Regions from separate parts of the Homo sapiens genome. Here regions 2 and 3 are each linked to region 1. The links are contacts of gene promoters, found by promoter capture Hi-C in blood cells and fetal thymus (Javierre and others, 2016). All regions are on one chromosome and are shown on one strand. The core of a region is centred on a gene start or on the middle of the fragment in contact, and the rest is flanking DNA. Distances in the headings are between cores, read along the strand shown.

The links. Contacts are between HindIII fragments. The CHiCAGO score rates a contact against its expected background, and 5 or more counts as called.
Region 2: a contact is called between the fragment with the promoter of NDUFS8 here and the fragment with the promoter of PPP6R3 in region 1, in 10 of 17 cell types (total B cells, naive B cells, neutrophils and 7 more). The highest score is 12.4, in total B cells.
Region 3: a contact is called between the fragment with the promoter of CHKA here and the fragment with the promoter of PPP6R3 in region 1, in 5 of 17 cell types (total B cells, M0 macrophages, fetal thymus and 2 more). The highest score is 12.2, in total B cells.

What each region holds. Positions count from the first base shown.
Region 1 is chr11:68,459,095-68,462,544 of GRCh38, reverse strand. PPP6R3 (protein phosphatase 6 regulatory subunit 3) reads right to left here and starts at 1,793. Exons shown (of 24, transcript NM_001164161.2): 1 at 1,718-1,793. RefSeq lists silencers at 1,333-1,442, 1,493-1,542, 1,553-1,922, 2,233-2,382 and an enhancer at 2,063-2,122. The HindIII fragment of the contact is 4,553 bases long and covers 93-3,450 here.
Region 2 is chr11:68,029,368-68,032,256 of GRCh38, reverse strand. NDUFS8 (NADH:ubiquinone oxidoreductase core subunit S8) reads right to left here and starts at 1,576. Exons shown (of 7, transcript NM_002496.4): 1 at 1,524-1,576; 2 at 48-105. The coding sequence starts at 105. It overlaps GLTC1 (glycolysis associated regulator of LDHA post-transcriptional modification 1), which reads left to right and starts at 1,823. Exons shown (of 4, transcript NR_197583.1): 1 at 1,823-1,964; 2 at 2,837-2,889. RefSeq lists enhancers at 1,370-1,549, 1,541-1,835. The HindIII fragment of the contact is 7,666 bases long and covers 1-2,889 here.
Region 3 is chr11:68,119,775-68,123,224 of GRCh38, reverse strand. It overlaps CHKA (choline kinase alpha), which reads left to right and starts at 1,837. Exons shown (of 12, transcript NM_001277.3): 1 at 1,837-2,397. The coding sequence starts at 2,048. It overlaps CHKA-DT (CHKA divergent transcript), which reads right to left and starts at 1,337. Exons shown (of 4, transcript NR_183630.1): 1 at 1,022-1,337. RefSeq lists silencers at 983-1,082, 1,433-1,862, 2,433-2,562 and enhancers at 332-1,098, 1,099-1,864, 2,713-2,842, 2,983-3,112. The HindIII fragment of the contact is 18,960 bases long and covers 1-3,450 here.

The DNA.
Region 1 (3,450 bases), core at 544-3,043:
TTACACTAAGAAACCCTAGTTACTGATTCGGGTGGCAGTCACCCAGAAACTAGTATCCAAAAGCACATGAGGAACAAAGCCCGACTTAAGCTTGTGATGGGCTTTTCTGTATTTAACCATCTCTTTAAACATTATGAGGCGCTACTACTCATTAATTACTCCGGTAAATGTTCCTAATTTAAGGAATGGTCAAAAACCCTGTCCTGAAAAAATTAAAATAACTTATAGTTTTACTTTTTCAGCCCAACTGAGTCTTACACAGAGCTTTCTAAAGGCAGTCACCAAGAGTCGGGACTCAAATGCTCATCTGACTTCCCAATAGTACCTAAACATTTAAAAATCAAATTTAAATTAAACAATAATAGCCATTAACTAGCCTAACCACTAATCAGCCACTGAGGTGACTGTATGTGCCAGGCACAGCTCTAGCTGTTTTACATGTATTAGGGCAATTATCCTGACAAACTTATGGCTGGGACACTTATTATTATTCCCATACTACAGAGAAAAAAAAAGAGAAGCTGGGTAACTTGCCCAAGGTCACAGAGCTAAAAAGTGGTCACTGACTCCACTCCACAGTGAGGAAAACCCAACCACCACCATAACTGGGTCTCATACACTTGCTACTTGAGGCACAGTTCGGTGGTTGGAAACCTGGAGTCCCTGTCCCCCTTGAAGCCTATCTGCAACATGACCTTGAGGACAAAATCAAAGTAAACGTCCCACGAATAAAGGACACCACCCCGTCAACAAGTGCTGCGAGGATGAAAGGGAACGCCTGTCAAGCACCCCCTCCCATAAAAGCAAAACAGACCCAAAGCCCCACAGAGAAAACGTGAAGTACCAGGAAAATGACATTAAGTCACGCGGTTGAAACGTCAGGGCACGGAGGTACATCCAAAGACCCATCCCGTTCACCTATAATTAAAAAGTCTAAATTGTGATCACAGCCAGCAGGACCTCAACAGGAAACACCTCCAAGTAAACAGTGAATGGGCTTCTTTAAGAGGGAGGGACTTCAAGCCACAAGAAGGACCACCCACCCCCCCCACCCCCGGCTCAAATACACCAGGGAGGCATTCGAGACAGTTTACATACAAGCCACCTCACAGGAGTTAAAAAGCCACTGGGAAGGGTACTGGGAGCCTCGGAACTGGCTGGTGTGGATCCCGATGACTCTGCGGCGAATTAACAGAAACCCACAAAACTTGTTTCCCGAAGAGCAGAGTCCAACAATGGTCTTCGCGACTCTTGACGGCGAGTTGCTGCCTCAACTTGACGCGCTCCCCGAGGCCCCCGGGAGGCCCAGCGGGAGCGGAGACCGGGCGCGGGCCGGGCGGGGGGCGAGACTGCGGGCCGCGGCCGGCGGGCGGGAAGGCTGGAGCCAGAGCCGGGTCAGGGGCGCGCCTCGCCCGCCCGCCGCGCCAGGCCGCGAACGTCAACGAGGCACAAAGTCGCCGCCCCGACCGCGTCCCGCTCCCGGCGCCCGTCCTGGCGGGGCCCCCGGCTAACAGGAGCGGACGGGGAGCGGCCGGGAAGGACTCGGCGCCGCGCCTCCCGGGCCCGCGGAGCGACGAATTCCGGGGGGGGAGGGGAGAGGGGCCGGGACGTTCCCTCCCTGAGCCGCTGAGGCCAGGTGGAGGGGCCCCGCGCCTGCCCGCGCGCCTCGCACACCCCGCGCCGCGGCCTGCTCCGGCGCCTCCCCTACCCCCATTACCTGGAGGTGCCCACGACCCGCCGCTAGTTGCGCTCAGGCGGGAAACGCGCTCACCGACACCATCAGCGAAGCGCCCAAAATGGCGGACGTATCAAGCAGGCCTTGAGTTCCCCCCCGCCCGCCCTCTGGCCGCCTCTCAGCCAATCGCGGCCCTGCCCCCGCCCCCAGCTCCAGGCTCATTGGCCCCTCTCTCCCGCCCCCTACTACCTATTGGATCGCCTAGCGGCTCCTTTGACTACATTCCGATTGGCCCGCAAGCCTCGTCAGTCAAGCGCGAGGGGCGCATTCTTTTCCCATGGACTTGACGGATCCGGAACCTCTAGGACCCCGGAGCCTGAGAAACAAATCAGAAACGGGGAGAAACCTGGCTGGGACCCCCTACGCCGTAGCAACAGCAGGTCCTCCGCTTGACGGACGCTTCGGACCACCAATCCGAGTGGCCAATGCTTTTTAAAACTAAATTGAGCCAAGCCCATCATGGCCGTGGAGCCGGAGCCGTGAGGGATCCAATAGGGTGGCGAGCTGGCCGGGCGGGGCGGGGGCGGCGGGGGACACCGGTGGTGACGTGAGCCACAATATGCGCCGGCTGCAAAGGTTAGGCCGGGCTAGGGAATCAGCTTAAGTGGAGGAGCGTTCGTTTAGTATGTGAGAGGTAACGGGATCGATGCCTGCATTCTCCACAGGGGAATTTTTATCAGAATGATTTCCCATTGCGATCTCTTTACCTGAAAGAGGTGGCTGTCCTCGTAGCGGGGTCAAGGTGAGGGATCGCGGAATATCCCTACCTGTGACGCACCGCCAAGAGATAAGTGCCCTTGTCCTGGGAGAAGGACTTAGACGAGAACTTTTGGGGTTTGGTTTTGTTTGAGACGGAGTTTCCCTGTTGTCCCCCAGGCTGGAGTGCAGTGGTGCGACCTCAGCTCATTGCAACCTCCGCCTCCCAGGTTCAAGCAGTTCTGTCTCAGCCTCCCGTGTAGCTGGGATTACAAGTGCACGCCACCATGCCCGGCTAATTTTTGTATTTTTAGAAGAGACGGGTGTTTCACCATGTTGGCCAGGCTGGTCTCGAACTCCTGACCTCAGGTGATCCGCCCACCTCAGCCTCCCAAAGTGCAGGGGTTATAGGGGTGAGCCACCGCGCCTGGCCTGGGGTCTTTTTTGAGACAAGGTCTTGCTCTGTTGTCCAGGCTGGAGTGCAGTGGGGTGATCATGACTCACTGCAGCCTCCACCTCCTGGGCTCAAGCAGTCCCCCCACCTCAGCCTCCCGAGTAGCTGGGACCATAGGCACGCACCACTGGGCCCCGCTAATTTAATTTTTTTGTAGAGACAGGGTTTCCCTGTGCACACGAGCTTCTAAATGCTCCCCCGGGCTTCCCGTTCCCCGCCATATCTGTGCCTCCCAGGTAGGACCGAGGTCCCGGACATCAGGACCCCCGCCCCAAGAGCCAGCCCAGGACACCGAGACAGCCCACGGTTAGACCCCATGCTAATAACCTGCCTTATTCCAAAATGGATTTGAGGCGCCTCTCAGAGTCCCATGAAAATCCACAGGAGGTCACGGCGCGGTCACGCCTGTAATCCCAGCACTTTGGGAGGCGGAGGCGGGTGGATCACGAGGTCAGGAGATCGAGACCATCCTGGCTAACACGGTGAAACCCCGTCTCTACTAAAAATACAAAAAGAAAAAAAAAATAGCCGGGCGCAGTGGCGGGCGCCTGTAGTCCCAGCTACT
Region 2 (2,889 bases), core at 327-2,826, 430 kb after region 1:
AGGAGACTGGACTCCCCTACCCCCAGCAAAGGCTTCTTTGGTCCTACCTGCACGTGCAGCCTGGGCCAGGGCCCGCAGCAGCATAGGCGTGGTCAGGCAGCGCATCTGGTGGCATAAAAAGGGATGGAGGGTGGGGTGTGCCCAAGAACCATCCTCTTCTGAGACTGGCACCGCAAGGATCCCAAGTCTCCACTGACATGTGTCACTTTGCCCTCTACTCGCACCCCATTGCTGTCAGAGGCACAGATGGCTTTCCTGTTCCCAGCGCCTCCCAGCTTTCCATCTGATTCAGCTTGGCTGAGCTACAATTCAGTTTCTGTGGACCCCAAGTTCTGCCTCACCTAAGAAACCTTTTAAATCCATCCTTCCTTTCTCCCTCCCAGAGATCCTGTTTCCCACCTTTCTGCTCCTCCCTTCATCCTCCCCAAATCTAACCAAAAACAACATTACCAGCCCCCGCCAGCATGCACTGAGAGCGAACTTTGTTAGCTCTCCTCCCCCAGGAACCGTGCCCAGGGGTGGAAAGCGCTGCCATCCTATCCTTACAAGGACTCCACGAGGGAGGCACAAATAAGGCGCTGGGACTCAGTTTGTTGAGTGACTCGCTAGGGCTGGGTGTGGTGGCTCACGCCTGTAATCCCAGCACTTTGGGAGGCTGAGGCAGGTGGATCACCTGAGGTCAGGAGTTTGAGACCAGCCTGGCTAACATGGTGGAACCCCGTCCCTACCAAAAAATACAGAAATTAGCCAGGTGTGGTGGTGGGCACTTATAATCCCAGCTACTCGGGAGGTTGAGGTAGGAGAATCGCTTGAACCCAGGAGGCAGAAGTTGCAGTGAGCCCAGACTGCACCACTGCCCTCCAACCTGGGCGACAGAGTGAGACCTTGTCTCAAAAAAAAGATAAAAAAGTGACTTGTCGGAAGTCACACGATAAGGAGGTGGGCCGAGGATCGGAACCCAGCCCTGCCCTGCTGGAAACTCTTCAAGGCCTGAACAGTCCTCGGTACCACATTCCTTTCCCCAGCTTCAAGGCCCTCCTGGAACTGTCCCCCAGCCTGCCGCGTGACCTTGGGCAGATGATGTGACCTGACCTCCGTCTTCTCACCTATGAAGTGGGTTGGGGGCGGTTGGTCTTGGGAATTAGGGGAGCCCGTACATGCCAAGGGCACCCCAGAGCCCGGCACTTAGCCGGCGCTCATAAGAGCTCATCCCACGACCTGTGAACCCCCTAACAGGCCCACTCCTTTGGATCACTGACTGCAGTTCCAGGGACCCAACCCAGCACCTTCCCCACCTTCCCAGTGATCTCCGACCCTAACTAGGCCGGTGGCGCAGAGCGGGCGGCGCATGCGCCCTGAGAGCCGGCTCCCCGCTGCACCTGAAGGACACGGAGGCCGCGGATCCTGAGTGAGCCGAGGGGAAGCCCAGGCGCAGAGCTGGCGGCGCCAACGGGGACACCACACTCGCCCCCGACGCCACGCTGCCCAAGCCCGACTTTCACGGCCAAAACGTGAACACCCACCTTGAAGCGCCGCCGCTACTTGCCTTGCCAAGCAGGCCAGTCAATCGGGAGGCGGAGGCTACACTGTAGGACGCTGCCATTGGGCCAGCGGGTTCCCCCTTTTCTGTATTGATGCTTCATGGTGTGGTCTGATTGGCCAGCAAGGCTGCTGAAAGAGGCGGGATTCAGAAATATCTTTCTTTTGATTGGCTAGGAGAGACCGGCGCTTGAAGTTTGTAGGGGGCCGCCATGTTGGTTTGGGGAGGCCAATAAGTGAAGACCTCCGAGCCGCTGGAGGCGGGACATCCGGGGCGTGGTTTAGAAAGAGTGCTTTCGCCGTGGGTGCAGAGGGTGGGCCCGCCGGGTTGGGTGGGGGGCGTGTGATGACGGTAATGGCGACGAGATGCTCAACTCACGCGGCCTCTTTTAATCCTCACAGCAGCTCTGCGTGGAGAAACTACAGTAACGTGTTACCACGTTAAGGCGGGAAGCTGAGGCATGGGAGTATTTAGTAACGTTCCCGGGCCGTAGAGCTGCGGTGTGCGGCCGCCTGATCCACCTGATCTGTATGACTCCCGTACTCAACCAGCCTATGTTTCCTACCAGCGAATTTTTTTTTTTTTTTTTTTTTTTTTCTTTTTTTGAGACAATCTGGCTCTGTGGCTCAGGCTGGAATGCAGTGGTGCGATCTCGGCTCACTGCAGCCTCGACCTCCCAGGCTCGGGTGATCCTCACTTCTCAGCCTCCCGAGCAGCTGGAACCACAGTCGCCTGCCACCACCAGGCTCGGCTAATTTTTGTATTTTTTGTAGAGACGGGGTCTCGCCATGTTGCCCAGGCTGGTCTGGAACTCCTGGACTCAGGCGATCCTCCTGCCTCGGCCTGCCAAAGTGCTGGGATTACAGGCGTGAGCCACCACGCCGGGCCTTTCCCCGGGAATGCTGTGGTAGAGGGACCCGCAGAGGCCCCGAGGCTGCCTGCATGTGTGTGTTGGGAGGATCTGCGCTGAGGGTAGGTAGGAGTTGGGCAGGCCAGGACAGGAAGGAGGCAGAGGGCATGTCCCATGCCCGTGCAGAGGGAGGACACGCATGGTAGACCAGGACGAGGACAAGGGCAGGCTCAGTGTGTGCAAAGGGGACAGTGGTTTGGGATTTGCATGCAGATGCCCGAGCCTCCAAAGGACCTGTGGGCCACAGGGAGACCCTGGGGGAGTTCAAGCTGAGGAGTGGAGAGGGCTTTGGGCTGGTCAGCAGGTGCTCAGAGGAGAGGGGCTGGCCCTAGAGAGAAGGGAGGTCTTGGGATGGTGGCCCACACCTGACCCTGGCCCTTCATCAGGTGATTCCTGCGTGGATGCCTGCGGGGATTCCTGCGTGGATTGGGGAAGTCCT
Region 3 (3,450 bases), core at 588-3,087, 340 kb after region 1:
AGATTTCTGGCATTCCTTTGAGATTACCAGACTGGTGCCAGGGGACAGTGGGACAAAGGGCTTGTCACCTGGGCAGGCCATTGGCATGGCCCCACCTCCCTGTGAGCCGGTATTTTTAGAGAAAGTCCTTGGCTCCTTTATCCAAACGGCCTCCCCAGATTGAAGCCCTTGGCTTCTCAGCCTTTCAAACATCCAGTGGCCGGCCTCCGTCCCAGGGGCCTTGGTCTCTCCTACCTCCCTGCAGGTCAACTTCCAGGCCTGTCGCCACAGCAGCCTTACAAAAGTCCCCTTTCATTTTTATCCTTAAATAAGACCATTTTGCGTGGAGCAAGTTCAGCCAAGTACACACTCTAAAAGATTTTTGCGGCCGGGCGCGGTGGCTCACTCCTGTAATCCCAGCACTTTGGGAGGCCGAGGCGGGCGGATCACGAGGTCAGGAGATCGAGACCATCCTGGCTAACACGATGAAACCCCGTCTCTACTAAAAATACAAAAAAAAAAAAAAAAAAAAAAAAAAAATTAGCCAGGCGTCGTGGCGGGCGTCTGTAGTCCTAGCTACTCGGGAGGCTGAGGCAGCAGAATGGCGTGAACCCGGGAGGCGGAGGTTGCAGTGAGCCGAGATCGTGCCACTGCACTCCAGCCTGGGCGACTGAGCAAGACTCCGTCTCAAAAAAAAAACCAAAAAACATTTTTGCTTCTGGAAGACTGTGAACTCCCCACATAGAAGCATTTCCTGTGTATCAGGCACTGGATTTCCTAAGCCCCTGGCAGCCCAGGAAACCTCCTGTTTCAGCTCATGTCCCATAAAATGGGATCCATAATTTTTATATGTATCAGCACCTCACTTCTAGGAAGGACGGGAGCAGTGAGGGACATGGGGCAGTGTGTGGCAAACGGTAGCAGGGGCCCTTGCCCCTCTACCCCGGCAAAGGTGCGTTAGTCACGGTCACAAGGCTGTTTCCTGCGGGGGATGGGGAGGCAGGGGCAGCGTCCACAACGCCAGTAGCCCCGTGGCACGCACCTTTGGCCTGTGCTCTGGGCAGTTGCGGCGGCCCCATGGCGGGGATGATGCCCCTCCCTCGACGGTCCCTGGGCCTCCAGCCCTGAACTTCTAGGCCCGAGCATCCTCAGTACCACGGACAGGGAAACTGAGGCTGCGGGAGGCGTGCAGAGGGCTGGGCCCCGGTAGCCGGCGTGCAGCCGGGCCCAGCCTGGCCCACCGTGTGGCCTCGAGCCCGTCACCTCTTCCCTCCTTCAGACCTCGGTTTCTTAGTAATTCTTCGGGCTCCGCGTTGGACAGGGCGAGACGCGCCTGTGGCAGCGCTGGGAAATGTTACAAAATCACACCCACTGAGCCCCAGGAGGAGGCTGCTCGCCCAAGGTCACGCGGAGAGGGCAGTAGCCTCCAGACACGTTTCCTGCCTGCCCCTGCCAGGCCCGGCCTCTGATGTCACGGGGCTTCCGAGGGGTCCAAGGAAACTTTCAGCTCCCAAAGCCAACCCCGGGGTCCTCCGAGGCTCAGGAGCCTCCCTCGCTCGGCCCAGTCCGGCTCCGTCCCACCGCGGAGGCGCTCTCCCGGCGCCCCCCGCGCCTCGCTCCCCTCTCCCCCTTCCCTGCGACCGCCGGGGCGCCCCCTCGACGCCCCGCCCCCTTCGCCCAGGCCCCGCTCACGGAGGCCGCAGCGCTCTGGGTTGGGGGCGGCGCCGCAGCCAATGGGGAGGCGGTGTGGCGAGGGCGGCGGCGGTTATGATGCGCCGGGCCGGCGGACGGCGGCCAATCAGTGGCGAGCGCGAGGGCGGGCTGTGACGCGGCCGGCGCTCCTCGTGCGGCGGCGGCAGAGGAGCGAGTGCAGCGGCCAGCAGCACATCCCCGCTCCACAGTCGCCGCAGTCGCCGCAGCCGCCGCCGCCGCCCCGCGCGCCCAACCGCCGCGGCCCCCTGCCCCGCCGGCCTGCCAGTGAGAGAGCGGCGAGGGGGCGCCCGGCCGGACTCTGAGCCTAGTCCTCTCGCGCTGCGGCCGCCCGCGCCTCCTCGGCCGCCTGTCGGGCATGAAAACCAAATTCTGCACCGGGGGCGAGGCGGAGCCCTCGCCGCTCGGGCTGCTGCTGAGCTGCGGTAGCGGCAGCGCGGCCCCGGCGCCCGGCGTGGGGCAGCAGCGCGACGCCGCCAGCGACCTCGAGTCCAAGCAGCTGGGCGGCCAACAGCCGCCGCTCGCGCTGCCCCCTCCGCCGCCGCTGCCGCTGCCGCTGCCGCTGCCCCAGCCCCCGCCGCCGCAGCCGCCCGCAGACGAGCAGCCGGAGCCCCGGACGCGGCGCAGGGCCTATCTGTGGTGCAAGGAGTTCCTGCCCGGCGCCTGGCGGGGCCTCCGCGAGGACGAGTTCCACATCAGTGTCATCAGGTCGGTGGCGCCGGGTCTGGGGGCCGCGGGACAGTCAGGTGACGCGGGGCGGGGCCGGGGCGGGGTCCGGGCAGGGGGCGTGGGCCGGGGGGGTCGGGGGCCGGGGGAGCCGGGGCCGGGGCGGAGGCCGGGGACCGGGGACCGCAGCCGGCGAAAGCCCTCCTTCTCCCAGCCCTGGGTAATCCAAGGGAAGCGGGTTCGCGGCCGCCGCAGGCCGTCCACAAACAGGCTTTTGTAAAAACGTCGGTTTCATGAGAAAACGGGTCTGTTCTAGGAGAACAATACCGTTCCATCACGAAGTGCGTGTGGTACTGACGCTTAAGATAGGTCTAGAAAGTCTCTGCGGTTTAGGGCCTTGAATGAAGGTGTTGTGGCTGGCTTTAAAAACACAAACCACTTTTTAACTTTTTTCTGTTAGTTTTTCGAGTTCGCGATTTGATGTCTTGTTCCCTCTCCAAGAGTCATTGTTAGTGGAGGAGTAGCATTTTCTCATCCCCTAAGAGACATCACTATAGCTGTGTTACTAGACAAAGGTGGGAGGCGTGGCTCCTAAAATAAGAGTAAGGTAGAAATGTTTTTTCCTTTTTTTTTTTTTTTTGAGACGGAGTTTCGCTCTTGGTCCCCAGGCTGGAGTGCAGTGGCGCGACCTCGGCTCACTGCAACCACGGCCTCCCGTGTTCAAGCGATTCTCCTTGCCTCAGCCTCCCGAGTAGCTGGGATTACAGACACACGCCACCACGCCCGGCTAATTTTGTATTTTTAGTAGAGACAAGGTTTCTCCATGTTCGTTAGGCTGATCTTGAACTCCCGACCTCAGGTGATCCACCCGCTTCGACCTCCCAAAATGTTGGGATTACAGGCATGAGCCACCGCGCTCGGCCATTTTTTCCTTTTTTTAAACTTGAAAATATTTAATCTTAAATTTGAATTACAGAAGTACGCGTGTAGGTATTCAGACTTAACAGAAGTCTGACCTTCTTTCACCACTCTGCTCCGAAGACATAACCATTCAACGTAGTGTGTGCATCCTTCTATTGAGACCTTTAAAGATGT